Regions from separate parts of the Homo sapiens genome. Here region 2 is linked to region 1. Evidence: promoter capture Hi-C in 16 types of primary human blood cells and fetal thymus (Javierre and others, 2016). All regions are on one chromosome and are shown on one strand. The core of a region is centred on a gene start or on the middle of the fragment in contact, and the rest is flanking DNA. Distances in the headings are between cores, read along the strand shown. Region 1 holds the start of ATP10B (ATPase phospholipid transporting 10B (putative)). Region 2 overlaps LOC105377700 (a long non-coding RNA gene).

Evidence for each region. Contacts are between HindIII fragments. The CHiCAGO score rates a contact against its expected background, and 5 or more counts as called.
Region 2: a contact is called between a fragment that was not itself captured here and the fragment with the promoter of ATP10B in region 1, in 1 of 17 cell types (naive CD8 T cells). The highest score is 5.4, in naive CD8 T cells.

What each region holds. Positions count from the first base shown.
Region 1 is chr5:160,847,345-160,854,037 of GRCh38, forward strand. ATP10B (ATPase phospholipid transporting 10B (putative)) reads right to left here and starts at 4,867. Exons shown (of 26, transcript NM_025153.3): 1 at 4,597-4,867. The HindIII fragment of the contact is 1,109 bases long and covers 4,122-5,230 here.
Region 2 is chr5:163,317,176-163,323,703 of GRCh38, forward strand. All of the region lies in intron 1 of LOC105377700 (a long non-coding RNA gene), which reads right to left. Among named protein-coding and RNA genes, the nearest start is that of CCNG1, 120 kb to the right of the region's middle. The HindIII fragment of the contact is 2,832 bases long and covers 3,044-5,875 here.

The sequences.
Region 1 (6,693 bases), core at 3,617-6,116:
TTTAGGTCTCCAGATTCACAAGCATATTGTAAGCAATAAATAAGCTGATAACAGCTTCTGATTTTATAACAGTACAGCCTTGCGGTGACCCCTTATGTATTGCTGCTACTTCCCAAAGAACCCCCAAACCTCAGTTAGAACTGTCCCCTGGATTACTGAGAGGGAAAACTCCATGTGGCACCTGCTAACAAGAACCTGTGCTGTTAAACTTGGTTAGTGTTTTATACAAGACCAAAGAAACACTGTCTTCTCTTTTTCTCCTTAAACAGAATAAGTAGTCGAGAAATTCCTTTGAGAAGCAACAAGATTTGATTGAATTTTTCAGAATTTCTTATTATTGTGTCAAGTTCACTTGACAGCAAAGGACAAACTGCCTTTCAAATGCTATAAATGAATGCATCAGCAATTCAGAAGGAAAAACGCGGGTTATTAAGTAGGAACAAGTCTCTCTGAATATATTTACACCAGCTCATGGAAACCATTGTCCTCAGAAACCTCTGCAAAAATCTATTTTCTAGTGTCGGTATTGCTTTAAGTTTGACAGATGATGGTAAAATACAATGAAATTACCTTTGAGCTCTGATATGTATATCAGCGCCCACATCTCTCACAATTTGATTTTTTATTTTTCCAACACAGCCATCTATTTTCAATATTATCCCTGCACACTCCAGGTTTATGCCTGGGGAAAATAACTATTTATGCCTAAGTCATACTTATATGCAGAATTTACACTATATGTAAACATACACACATACAATACACATGTGTAAATACATATTAGTTAAGAGCTGGAAGGAACCTTTCAGATCTTCAAGTCTTTACTGTCACATTACAAATGAAGAATCTGAAGCCCCAACAGAAATGCTATTGAGAAGGCCACACAGAAACCTGACTTCAAAGTGAGATTTGAGAGAATAAGGATGTAGCAAGTTCCTACTATGTTCTGAGGGTTACAGGAGGCATATTCCATTCATAAGTTCTTATACCATTTCTATGATGTTGGTATCACTCCCATTTGATAGATGAGAAAATTGAGGCTTACAAAAGTAGCACAGCTAAGAAAATAGCACAGCTAATAAATGGCACAAATGAAATTAAAGCACTGATGTAACTAGGTTCTTTCTAGCATACCAGCATTTCTCTAAATACATTCACTGCCATATCACTGACATAATTTTGCTAATCCACGTGCCAACTGTATTTTAACTTTTTTGATTAATTAATGTAAACATTTATAAAGGAAAAGTTTATCACCATTTAAATAGCATGCCATAAAGAGAAGAAAACTATTGCTGAGTTTTAGCTGGACCCTGCTGCTACCTAAAGACATCAAAATTGCATCCAGCTCTCTTTGTTGAAATGGGAGATTAGCAATGGGTAGAGAGGTATTAAAGGTCTAGTCATACCAAAATGAGACTTAATGATGGAAAGAGAGTTGAGAGGGAAAACTTTTACTATGTGATCTAGCTATTTGATATAATACGTGAGTATCACCTAAAGTCATCTTTGTCCTACCTAAGATCATTTTTGGTTCTATCATGGTACCTGTTCTTCACTTTGAGAAACACTGCAGTACATATAGTAACTGGGCATGTTCTCCAGGTCATGGTTCTGGAACTCCATCAGAATCACCTGAAGGCCTATTTAAAACAGATTTCTGAGTGATCCCGAGTTTCTGACTCAGCATGTCTGCGGCAGGGCCTGAGGTTTTGCCCTTCTAATAGTTCCCGAGTAATTCTGATACAGCCGGCCCAGGAAGCATATTTGGGAACCACTGCTCTAGGTTGTACTTGGGGAGGAGGAGGTAGAGAACATACGGTAGCATGTGTGTGAAGATTTCACCATCAATCTTGCTTGTGAGTGGAGGGATCTGGAATTTTTAATTAAGCAGATGAGGCAAAGAAACAATGTATTCTTGTGTTCCTGTGTCACTTCTTCAACTTAATGAGTTCAGATTGATACTGCACCATACCAGAGCGACCTGCAAAAACTTTATCTAAGAGACAAAAGTACCTCCTCTCAAATAATACAAGTTGTTTTCAGGCTGCTAACTATCTGCAAGGCTCCCTGCATTGGCAACAGCAGCCAGTGATCACTAATAACGAAAGCAGAAAATGAGATTCTCCTTCTTTTCTCCAGACGTTTAAGACAGTACTTAATAAACAAAAAATGCCATATCCATTAATATTCTTTCTCATCTGGTTCTCTTAGTAGTAACTAGCAATTATTAAGTGCCTTCTGTGGGCCAATTATTGAATTGTACTGGCAATTACACACACACACACACACACACACTCTTTTAATGTGAGCATTTGACAGGCGCAGTAACTTGCCAAGGTTACACAATTATAGGAAGCAGAACTGTAATTCATATGCAAGTTTTATTCCAAAGCCCGTTTTTTTTCTACTAAACAATACCCACTCCTATTCTGACTACCCAACTTCATCTCTTAATAAAAGGGTATTTTATAAAAAATGAAAAGAAGAAAAGGCTCCAGAAACTTAAACTTTGTAGTTAAAAGAATTGTAAAACAATGTCACCAGAAAATGAGAAATCAGTGACATTTAATCAGCAGAAAAGCTAGAACTCCCTAGGTTCAAAGCAAAATTTAAGAATGCCTGGCTAAGTTTTACTTTAAGGAGAGTGGGTAAATGGGTAGAATCAGTCTCAGGAATCCAACGAGTTTTAGTTTACTTTTGAGTCACAAAAGAAATTTTCATTCCCTTCTGACATGGCAGAAGCTGTTTGAAGAATGAAAGTGGTAGTAGAAGCAACACTGGGCCAGGTGCGGTGCTTACGCTTGTAATCCCAGCACTTTGGGAGGCTGTGGGCGGATCACCTGAGGTCAGGAGTTCGAGACCAGCCTGGCCAACATGGTGAAACTCCGTCTCTACTAAAAAACAAAAAACAAAAAACAAAACAAAAATTAGCCAGGCATGGTGGTGCATGCCTGTAATCCTAGCTACTTGGGAGGCTGAGATGGGAGAATTGCTTGAATCCAGGAGGCAGAGGTTGCATTGAGCTGAGATTGCGCCACTGCACGCCAGCCTGGGTGACAGAGCAAGACTCCATCTCAAAACAAAACAAAATAAACAAGAAGAAGCAACACTGGATTGAGAGCTCTGAGCCTTGGACTCTGGTGTCCTTTTCTCTCAGTAATTCAGACTTCATTTCTCTAGGTCCTAGTTTTATCATCTGTAAACTAGGCAGCTAGACTAAGTTCCATTCCATTCCTCAGAGCTCCGTTCCTTTGAAAGGCAGCCTCCTTCACTGGACTTATCAGTATCACATGCTTCAAAAGATAAGGCTCATCGTTTAGCACGAGAGGAGTATGATTTAACTGTAAAAAGTCAGCATGTGGGTTTCAACCTTCAGTTTCTCAAGAGCCTATTAATCCACCCATATGTGATGTTATACTGCTATACTCTTTAAAAAATACATGATGAAAACCTGAGGAGAGATCCTGAACCCTTAAATCCATATAATTAGGCTGTAAGAAATGAATTTTCCAAGAATTTTTTAAAAAGTCATCAATGGATGAAATGACAAACTCAGTGGGTGTTATTAAGAGTAATTATAGTAACATCTAGACAGAAAACAACATCTGTGATCTGCCTGATTAATGGCTTAATGTAACTGTATGTCTGTTAATGGAATAATACTCCAAGCAGTCTTGACTGTACATTTGCAAGATCTGGAAACAGAGAAGAAACTGTGGAAGAAGGAAGTAGCAGAGTGCCAGATTGGCTTTGGGAGGTCAAGCTCCTCTCTACAGTTTTCAAATTCTCCTCTGCCTACCTGGCAAATTCAGAGAAAATTGCCTGGCAAATTCAGAGAAAAACCAAGTTCCACCAGACACAGGCATGCACTCCTGTAGGCAAAATAACTAGCAGCTCAGTATAATTTTTATTTTTAACATTACTTTTCACCTTAGGGTTAGGGATAGTGTCACTCCAGCCTTAATAGCAGGCCACAGGACTGTCCTAAATGTATTCATCACAGACCTGCATGCATGGGGCTTTTTTATTTTTTTTCTGGAAGGAGTAACTCATACTTAGGGAAAAAACACATTTTTCTTTAAGCAACAGTTTTCTCCTTTGAACTCAAAGGAAAGTCAAGCTTCCCACCTATAGTTGAAAACTACTGCAATATGGCAGCTTCAGAGTTTATCAAGATGAAATTGGGAAGCCATGTAATGATCTCATTCTCTTCCTCAAAGCTATAGTTTCTTTCTGCTTTGAGAAGAAGGCTGTAACTCCATCTGCTTCCTCAGGCTGCACTGGATGAATGCAGGATAGCAGGATATATTATTTATCATAAAATGTATTCAGGCACATTCAGACTGCAAGCCCTGTTGAGTGAGGAAGTAGCATTTGCCATCAGCTTATCATAATGAAATCAATTGACGAAAAATAAAACATTCTGTTAGAAAAGAAATGTGGATCTCGCACCCAGAAAGCCAAATGAAATTTCAAATGCAGTGTAAAGAAAAGTAGTCATATCCTGGGCCTAATTCAGAACTTAGACTTGATGATTCTAAGAGGCAATTACTCCCCCATTATATAGGTTAAGGCCAGGATGCTTTTACTTACCCCAGCAAAGCTGACGTCCCTATTGAGCAGACTCCAGTAGAAGAAAACAGTGCTTGAAAGTGGCGGTATTTCTCTCGCACACCTTGGCTAAAATAGTTCTCTTTCCTATGGAATTTTTCATTTTTCTGATTATATCTGATTATGTCAAGGCAAGGCCTCAAGCTAACACTCCCTCAGAAACTTAGAGAAGATGACACACTGAAAAGAAATAACTGTGACCAATGAAAGAAAAAGGAAAAATAAGCTGCCTCGCTAGGCCCAAGAGTGAAAGAGAAGAATAGCAAGTCTGTGAATGTGAGGCCGAGTCCCAGAACAGTGAAGGCAGTGTTCTTCGACTTGGCTGAACATTTACATTGTTAGACATGGTTCTTGCATAAATTTCTACTTCCTGTGAATCAATGAGCCAGCAATATCAAAATTCATGGTGATTTTTATTCTCTACGCATGGTACAAAATGACTTTGTCCATCTACCTTTGGTAATGCATGTAATTAAGTGTGAGACAATTATAACCTTGCAGTTCTCTTTGGGGGGCCTGAAATATGATTCAGCTGCTGGGTTTCAAGGGCACTTAAGAAAGAAAAGACTCTCTACAGTGACTTTTATATGCATGCTGATGATGAATTTGCCCTCAAAGCTTCAGAAGTCTCATTTTGCAGTAGTCATAGTTTTTATTGATTACTGTTTGATTATACAAAATAAGGAAAGTGGGACCAATATATTATAGTGGCAGATTATGTGAATGGTGCAAACTTACAGAAAATCAGAATTAGTAATGGGCTTATTGATAGCTTCGATTCATACCCTAAAATGAGATTTTCATGTATAATCCTTTTATTAAGTTACCTACAACTCAACTAATTGGCATAAATGTCATGAGCAAGTTGCTGTATTGATGGATAATTATTGATGGGTCCATAAATAAAAGAGAAGGTAGAATGAGCAGTAAGTTGATTTTAAGGGTAGTAAAAAAAAGAAATATTACCAAACTTAGGAATAAAAGGTGTTGGAAAGAAGTGAACATACTAACTTCATGAAAATCTTTACATAAGATTTTGGTTGGTTGGTAGAGTAATTGTGAACTTTGTATGTACCTACAGATCTTATCAGAATACCAAGAAGAAACATGGACATAGGAAACATTTTACAAGAGAAGAAACACCCACACCATCTAAAATCTGCATCGCTGTGTGTGTAAGACACAAGCTAGGAATTTTTAAGAACATGAAATTTGCCTATGCTTTAGACAGTCTAGAATTTTTAAAAGAGCGAGTTGGCATTTCAAAATTCTCCATCTGCTAAAGAGAAGAATGCTTAAGTCCCTGTTCCTTTACTTCCCTTCACTCAGAGTGCTCTGGCTTCTAGGGACGAGTGTGGTCTAGAATCACAGATACGGTTAAATTGCAGAATATTGCACTAGTGGGTAACTGGAGGTTATTTAGTGAAGCCCCCTTGTGCCATGGAGGAGAATGCTGAAGCTCAGAGAAGTGAATACAATTGCTCAAAGCCAAACAGGAATTTGGTGGTGAACATGGGACCTCAAACCACATTGTCTTTCTCCTAAGACTAGTATATTTTCCATCACTGGTCTTTCTCCTAAGACCAGCTCTTTCCCATTATCACTTTCCTGGTAAAGAGAGAGGCACATGCAATTTAGGAACAAATGTGTCTGTAGCATCCCTTGGGTTTTCATGCTAACCAATGAATAGAGAGTCCTCAAATATGTTCATTTTCCAAACTGCCTGGAAATCGTAAATACTAACAGACATATGGCAAATTATTTATAAAATGTGTTGAAATTAAGTGACACTGTCTGGCTAATTAGAACCCTAATAAACAAATAATAGATAAGAAATGCTATGTTCAGTTTTTATTAGAGGGACTATCTTTCTTTTGTTTGGCTGCTGGAATTTTGTAATAAATCATATTTTAAAAATCACACTCACAGAGTTTTACTTATAGTTCCTATTTCCAGCAGGCAATCTTTCTACACTAAGGCAATTTAGCATTTTTGTATGTATTTGCATTTCTTATTGACCACATCATGCTTTTCATTCCTGATTTTTACACAGTGTGTCATGTCTAGCTTTTGTATTCT
Region 2 (6,528 bases), core at 3,210-5,709, 2.5 Mb after region 1:
ATTAGTGAGCTATTAAAGTTAAACAATTTTAGTAAAACCTTGTAGACATATTTATCCAATTTTTTTTATGTTTGACCATAAGGTAAGATTTTATAGACTCTTTTTAACCTTTTGTAACTTTTGTTAAAGAGCAGGTTGATGCTTTCAGAAAAACCTGTTGCATTTTTACTTTAATGTCCAGTTCACAGAAAAACTGGATGATACCTTTTTAACTTTAGTTAATATGTTTACACACAGAATTTTTTTTTACAATTAACATTTTAAAACTTGCTTAAACTTTTAAAACAATTTTTTTAACCTTTTAATGTAGGTAAAAATCTACATTCTTATGCCCCTTTATAATCTTTTTACCAAAGGTATATTTTATTTTTCTTATACACCTTGCACATAAACTATTTTTTAATAGTACTCGGGAGGCCTTATTACTTTTAAATTATACAACATTTTTCGCATAAATTTTTTTATAATTTTTTTTCATGACTTTGGCCAACAGTTCTTCAACATGTCTCAACTTTCTGACTTACTACAAACATTTTCTTTTTAAACAACCAGTTAATTTATTTCAGGACAAGAATTTACCATATAACACTCCTTTTACATAAATTCTGCCTCCCATTTTTTTTTTTTTTTTTTGGAACATAACCATTCCTTTTTTTAAAGGGAACTTTTTTTATGTCTTTGGACTAGACTGTCTAAGGCCACAAGATTAGAAGTTACCATAATACATGCTACACTGCTAACCTTTAGCAAACTTCACTTTTGTTGAAAACCTTGTAAGTTTGGGATTTCAATTATCCTTTGCTATTAATAAGACCTTGTTTAGTCTAAATTAACTTAGAATTGGTATAGATGGCCTTTTTTTCTCTCTGCTGGTCTTTCCTTGCCTTTGCCAGCCGCTTATGCTGCTGTTCTTTTAACTACTGTGGGGGGAAAGGGGGTCTAAAACCAGCTGTAACTGTCTATTTATAGAAACTGGTCTGGGTGCCTTGGCTTAAAGGTTACCTTGTGTCATACCTTTGAAACAAGGGACCTGTCCAGGCTTCCTTTTGATGGCCAACCCACCTCTAATGCTGGCCAGTCTATTTCACACAAAGTTCTAAGTTTTCCTGGTGTCACAGTAACACCGTACTCTCCCTTAAATTTTCTTGAAATTTTTTTTTAACATAGTTCCTAGTGGAGTGGGCTTATTTGTGCCTGACCCATGCTTCTTCAAGACAAAACACCACGCTCACACCACACAAACTCACCACAAGACAAAGAATGGGTAAAGAGGGCACATGCACACTTCTACCATTTATACCAAACCAAAATCACAAAATTCAAAATCCAAGTACCAAAAAATTCAAGCCAAGTCAAAACCAGAACCAAAGTATCCAGCAATTCAAGTCAAGTCAAAACCAGAACAAAAGTGCCAATACAGGCACACCATGGGTGATCAGGCCACGCTTCCACTCAGATGGAGTGGGGCAAGTTCCAAAGTCTAGTCTTACCAAGTCAAGCCAAGTCAAAACCAGAACAAAAGTGCCAATACAGGCACACCGTGGGTGATCAGGCCACACTTCCACTCCGATGGAGTGGGGCAAGTTCCAAAGACTAGTCTTACCAACTTTCAGATGTCCGGACTCCAAGTCCCAGTTCCTTCCGGGTATTCAGCCGCTGTGTTAATCCTCCACAGGGGCCTGTTATGTGCTGCTCTGGCAAGGCGTTCCACCAGGGCAATTGCCTACCCAGGAGCGCTCTTTGGATCGTGCCTCTCAGGCTGGCTGGAGTCCCCTGCAGGGACACTCCACAGGGCAGGCTTAAGCCGCCTAAGGGGCTGCCTCGGCCGTCTGTCAGTCACCTCACTTCCCGGTCAGGGAACCAAGAAATGCAGCAGGATGAGCCGCAGACAAAATCTCTCAGACACCGAGTTGTAGAAGGAAGGGCTTTATTCAGCTGGGAGTGTGGGCAAGCTACTGTCTCAAAATCCGAGCTCCCCAAATGCACAATTTCTGTCCCTTTTAAGGGCTCACAACACTAAAGATTTCACAAGAAAGGGATGCGATTGATTTGAGCAACCAGGCGGTACATTGTAGGGGCTGCATGTGCTGGTGGTCAGAGAGAAACAGAACAGGGCAGGGAGTTTCACAGTGTTGTTCTATACGATGTCTGGAATCTATGAATAACATCAGTTTCTAAGTTATGAGTTGATTTTTAACTACTGGGTTTAGGTCAGGCAGGCCCAGGCCTGGTTTCGGGCCTGGCGCCGGGCTGCCTGTCTTTGGTTTTACTTCCTTGTTGTTTTTTCTTAAAACAGGTACTGAGGCCGGGCGCGGTGGCTCACGCCTGTAATCCCAGCACTTTGGGAGGCTGAGGCGGGTGGATCATGAGGTCAGGAGATCGAGACCATCCTGGCTAACAAGGTGAAACCCCGTCTCTACTGAAAAAAAAAAAAAAAAAAAAAAAAAATACAAAAAATTAGCCGGGCACGGTGGCAGGCGCCTGTAGTCCCAGCTACTCGGGAGGCTGAGGCAGGAGAATGGCGTGAACCCGGGAAGCGGAGCTTGCAGTGAGCCGAGATTGCGCCACTGCAGTCCGCAGTCCGGCCTGGGCGACAGAGCGAGACACCGTCTCAAAAAAAAAAAAAAAAAAAAACAGGTACTGAGTATAAAACAATATGAGAGGGTCTCTCTCTTCCCTCAGTACCACTCCTTAACCAGCACCTTTTCTGTCAGGTGTCTTCTCTAGGCCTGGTTAGTCTTCTGCATCCATAAAGGGCTTGATCACATGTTACCCTTTCTAAAAGTCTCACCTCATATTTTGAGTTTACTTTCATCTTTCCTTTTCCACTTCTCTCAGCTTTAATGAGATAGTGCCTCACATTGTGATTAACTGTTGCTGATTAAGTAAAAAAAACAAGAAGATGAGTTTGATGAGAGAGAAAATGCTAGATATAGAGAAAAGAAAACAGTGAGCCAAGCTAGGAATTAGAAATATTCCCAAGCAACAAAACAGAGCAATTGGGACAAACACAAGTATCAATGTATATTTCTACAGTTATATAAGCTTGTGATACTATGCAGTTAAGTAATGTTTATAATTCTTTCCAGCTTATTTACAGTGAAAGATATGGACACTATGAAATCAGAATAGTTTAAAATCTAGATTTCCTTTTACTCTTTCTGTTGATTTTAAATATTGCTAACCAATTCTTTCACCCACACACCCATAATGTTTTTGGCCCTAGCAACCTAGATTTCCTTCTTGCATTAAGGTTATACCACTTGGATGTTTTGAAGTAAGAGACCTATCTGGGATTACAAAATTGTGAGCAAAGCACTCAGGTACTGTTCGCCATGTAGACAACAAAAACTAGGAGCCAAAAACAAAAACAGCCTCTTCTTACCGCTGAAGTAAAGTTGTTTTTATAATCCATATAGACTTGGTTTAAAAGTACTATTTTCGGCCGAGCGAGGTGGCTCACTCCTGTAATCCCAGCACTTTGGGAGGCCGAGGCGGGCAGATCATGAGGTCAGGAGATCGAGACCATCTTGGCTAACATGGTGAAACCCCGTCTCTACTAAAAATACAAAAAATTAGCCAGGCGTGGTGGCGGGCGCTTGTTATCCCAGCTACTCAGGAGGCTGAGGCAGGAGAATGGCATGAACCCAGGAGGTGGAGCTTGCAGTGAGCCGAGATAGCACCACTGCAGTCCGGCCTGGGCGAAAGAGCGAGACTCCATCTCAAAAAAAAAAAAAAAAAGTACTATTTTCACGCATCACATTGTCTCATGATATGGACAATAGAATATCCTTGGGTCACAAAGAATTAGTTTACCGTCTTTTTTAGGTAAACTTAGTACCTATAAAAGAACACAAGGGAAAATTTCTGATGCTAAAACACGACAAATTAAAGACATAATCCAAAAAAAATTTTCCTTGTTAAAAAAAAATTGTAATAAAGCCTGAGAATGCAGTTTGAATGCATTCACCACATTCCATGAGAAATCAATAGAGGCCCATATCAAAGCACATCATGAAGAATATTTGGTTTACTGGGATAAAGAAAACATTTTAAAAGCACCAGGAGAAGCAAGAAAACAGGTTACCTACAAATAATAAAAACTGGACTGGCCCAATATTTAACAACCAATTGTATTCTGAAAGAAAAATTCAGTGAGCTAATAATTTGGCATCCTAATCACTTGTCTTTCATGCATAAAGGCAACATAAAGTATGCTCAGATGCATAAAACCAGAGTCTTACCTGAGGATACACTCAAGCCAATTGAAAGAAAAATCAAAGTGAGGAACTAAATTGAGAAAGACATGAAATAAAATTGATTTCCATACTCAATTTGTATCCAACTTTGGGAATCCAGTTTGATTATGGACTACATTAAAGAATGAAACGTCACCCTATAGTGCCTCCCTCAAATGTTTCTCTTCTGTTTTTCTCTCTTCATTCCAGAAAATATGTTTATTCAGCCTTCTCAAAAATGCAGGGAAATAGGCCGGAAATTATAAATCATCCTCCCCAAAATTGTACAGCAATTCACAGCAAAGAGAATAACATTAAACACTTAAATAATTTGCTAACCTAATGAACTTATTATCCTCCAAAAGGAAATAGAAACCACAATTCTAGCACCAAGGATTTTTTTAAAAATATAAATAATGTAAAAGTTAGAAATGTAATGGAAAATCACTAATTATTATCCAAAGCAGAAATTATAGGGCCTGGAAGAAATGTGTTATATCTCTTGAAACCTCTAATATTCATTTACATATCCATTTTACATATCCATTTAAGCAGGAAAAAGATCTATTACCAAAATTATTGAACTTCGGATGCTGGCCACAAGCACTCAATTTGGGAACTTCTGTTGTTATTCAACATGAAGCTACCCTATATAATTGGAAAGCATTGTAGTATAGAAAATACTTCTCATCTGTGGGGAAAATATAATTTATTTGCAATTGTACTGTTCCTTTCACTAATTTTAAGGAGGGAAAACACAATTTGGATTAGCCAGACAGATGGGGTCACATCACTCCTCAAGCTATTTATCAAAGTTTTATGGCAGGAAAAATTTGTATTTAAGAAGCAAATTATTTGTAAATGAGTGTTTTCTTTTCTTTTGTTTTGTTTTTGCAGATGCCAAAGCCATATATGTAACTCTTGAGAAGAGCCTTTTTTTTTTTTCCTCTAAAAAACATTACTCTCCATCTATGGTTCTCTCTTGCCCTTTTTTTTTTTTTTTTTTTTTTTTTTTTTTGAGACGGAGTCTCGCTCTGTCGCCCAAGCTGGAGTGCTGTGGCGCGATCTCGGCTCACTGCAAGCTCTGCCTCCCGGGTTCACGCCATTCTCCTGCCTCACCCTCCCGAGTAGCTGGGACTATAGGCGCCCACCACCACGCCCGGCTGATTTTTTCTGTTTTTTAGTAGAGACGGGGTTTCACAGTGTTAGCCAGGATGGTCTCGATCTCCTGACCTCGTGATCAGCCCGCCTCAGCCTCCCAAAGTGCTGGGATTACAGACGTGAGCCACCGCGCCCGGCCTCTCTTGCCCTTTTAAGAAAGGTACTGCCTGGTACAATAATGCCCATGATGAGAAGAGTAAGAAGATTGAATTATCTTGAAACCCTCTCAACAAGGGGGAGGAATCCAAGCACCTCCTTGCACTGCTCACAGGGACCAAGAATCGTATAGGAGGGACCAAGAATCATATAAGAAGGACCAACAAAAGAGGCTGTAGCTGTCCCAATGAATAGACATTTATAACAACGAAGAGTGCTTACAGAGAAAATCTGTTTTGCTCCAAAGCCAAGACTTTAAACCCTAACTACATTTGTATCAAAAACTTAATGGAAAAATTCACATAATATGGCAAAATGTAAGCTTTAGAATCAGAAAGACCTGAATTTAAATCCTCAATATCTATGTCTGGTATATAATTTGGGCAAATTATGTTTTGCTTATTACCCTGTTTGCTCATTAGCAAAATGAGGATAATAATACCTGCCTTATAGAGTGCTTGTGAAGTTTTGAGTAAATACAGGTAAACCATGTGGTTATTCTATGAATATTATTAATGATGTCCTCAGATTCACTTAGAAAGAAGAAGAAATTAAGGGGCTTATTATCTGAAGTACATAACAATATAAACCAGTAAACATTTATTATAGACCTGCTATGTGTCCTTCAAGATTCTGGATGCCATAGAGTATGTGAATGTTATATTTGCCACATTAATCAAATAATACTTCTTTTTTTTTTTTTTTTTTTTTTTGAGACAGACTCTCACTCCATCACCCAGGCTGGAATGCAGTGGTTTGATCTCAGCTCGCTGCAGCCTCCACCTCCCAGGTTCAAGTGATTCTCATGCCTCAGTCTCCCAAGTAGCTGGGATTACAGGCCTGCACCACCATGCCTGGCTAATTTTTGTATTTTTAGTAGAGACTGGGTTTCACCATGTTGTCCAGGCTGGTCTCAAAACTCCTGGGCTCAAGCGATCTGCCTCCCTCAGCCTCCTAAAGTGCTAGGATTAAT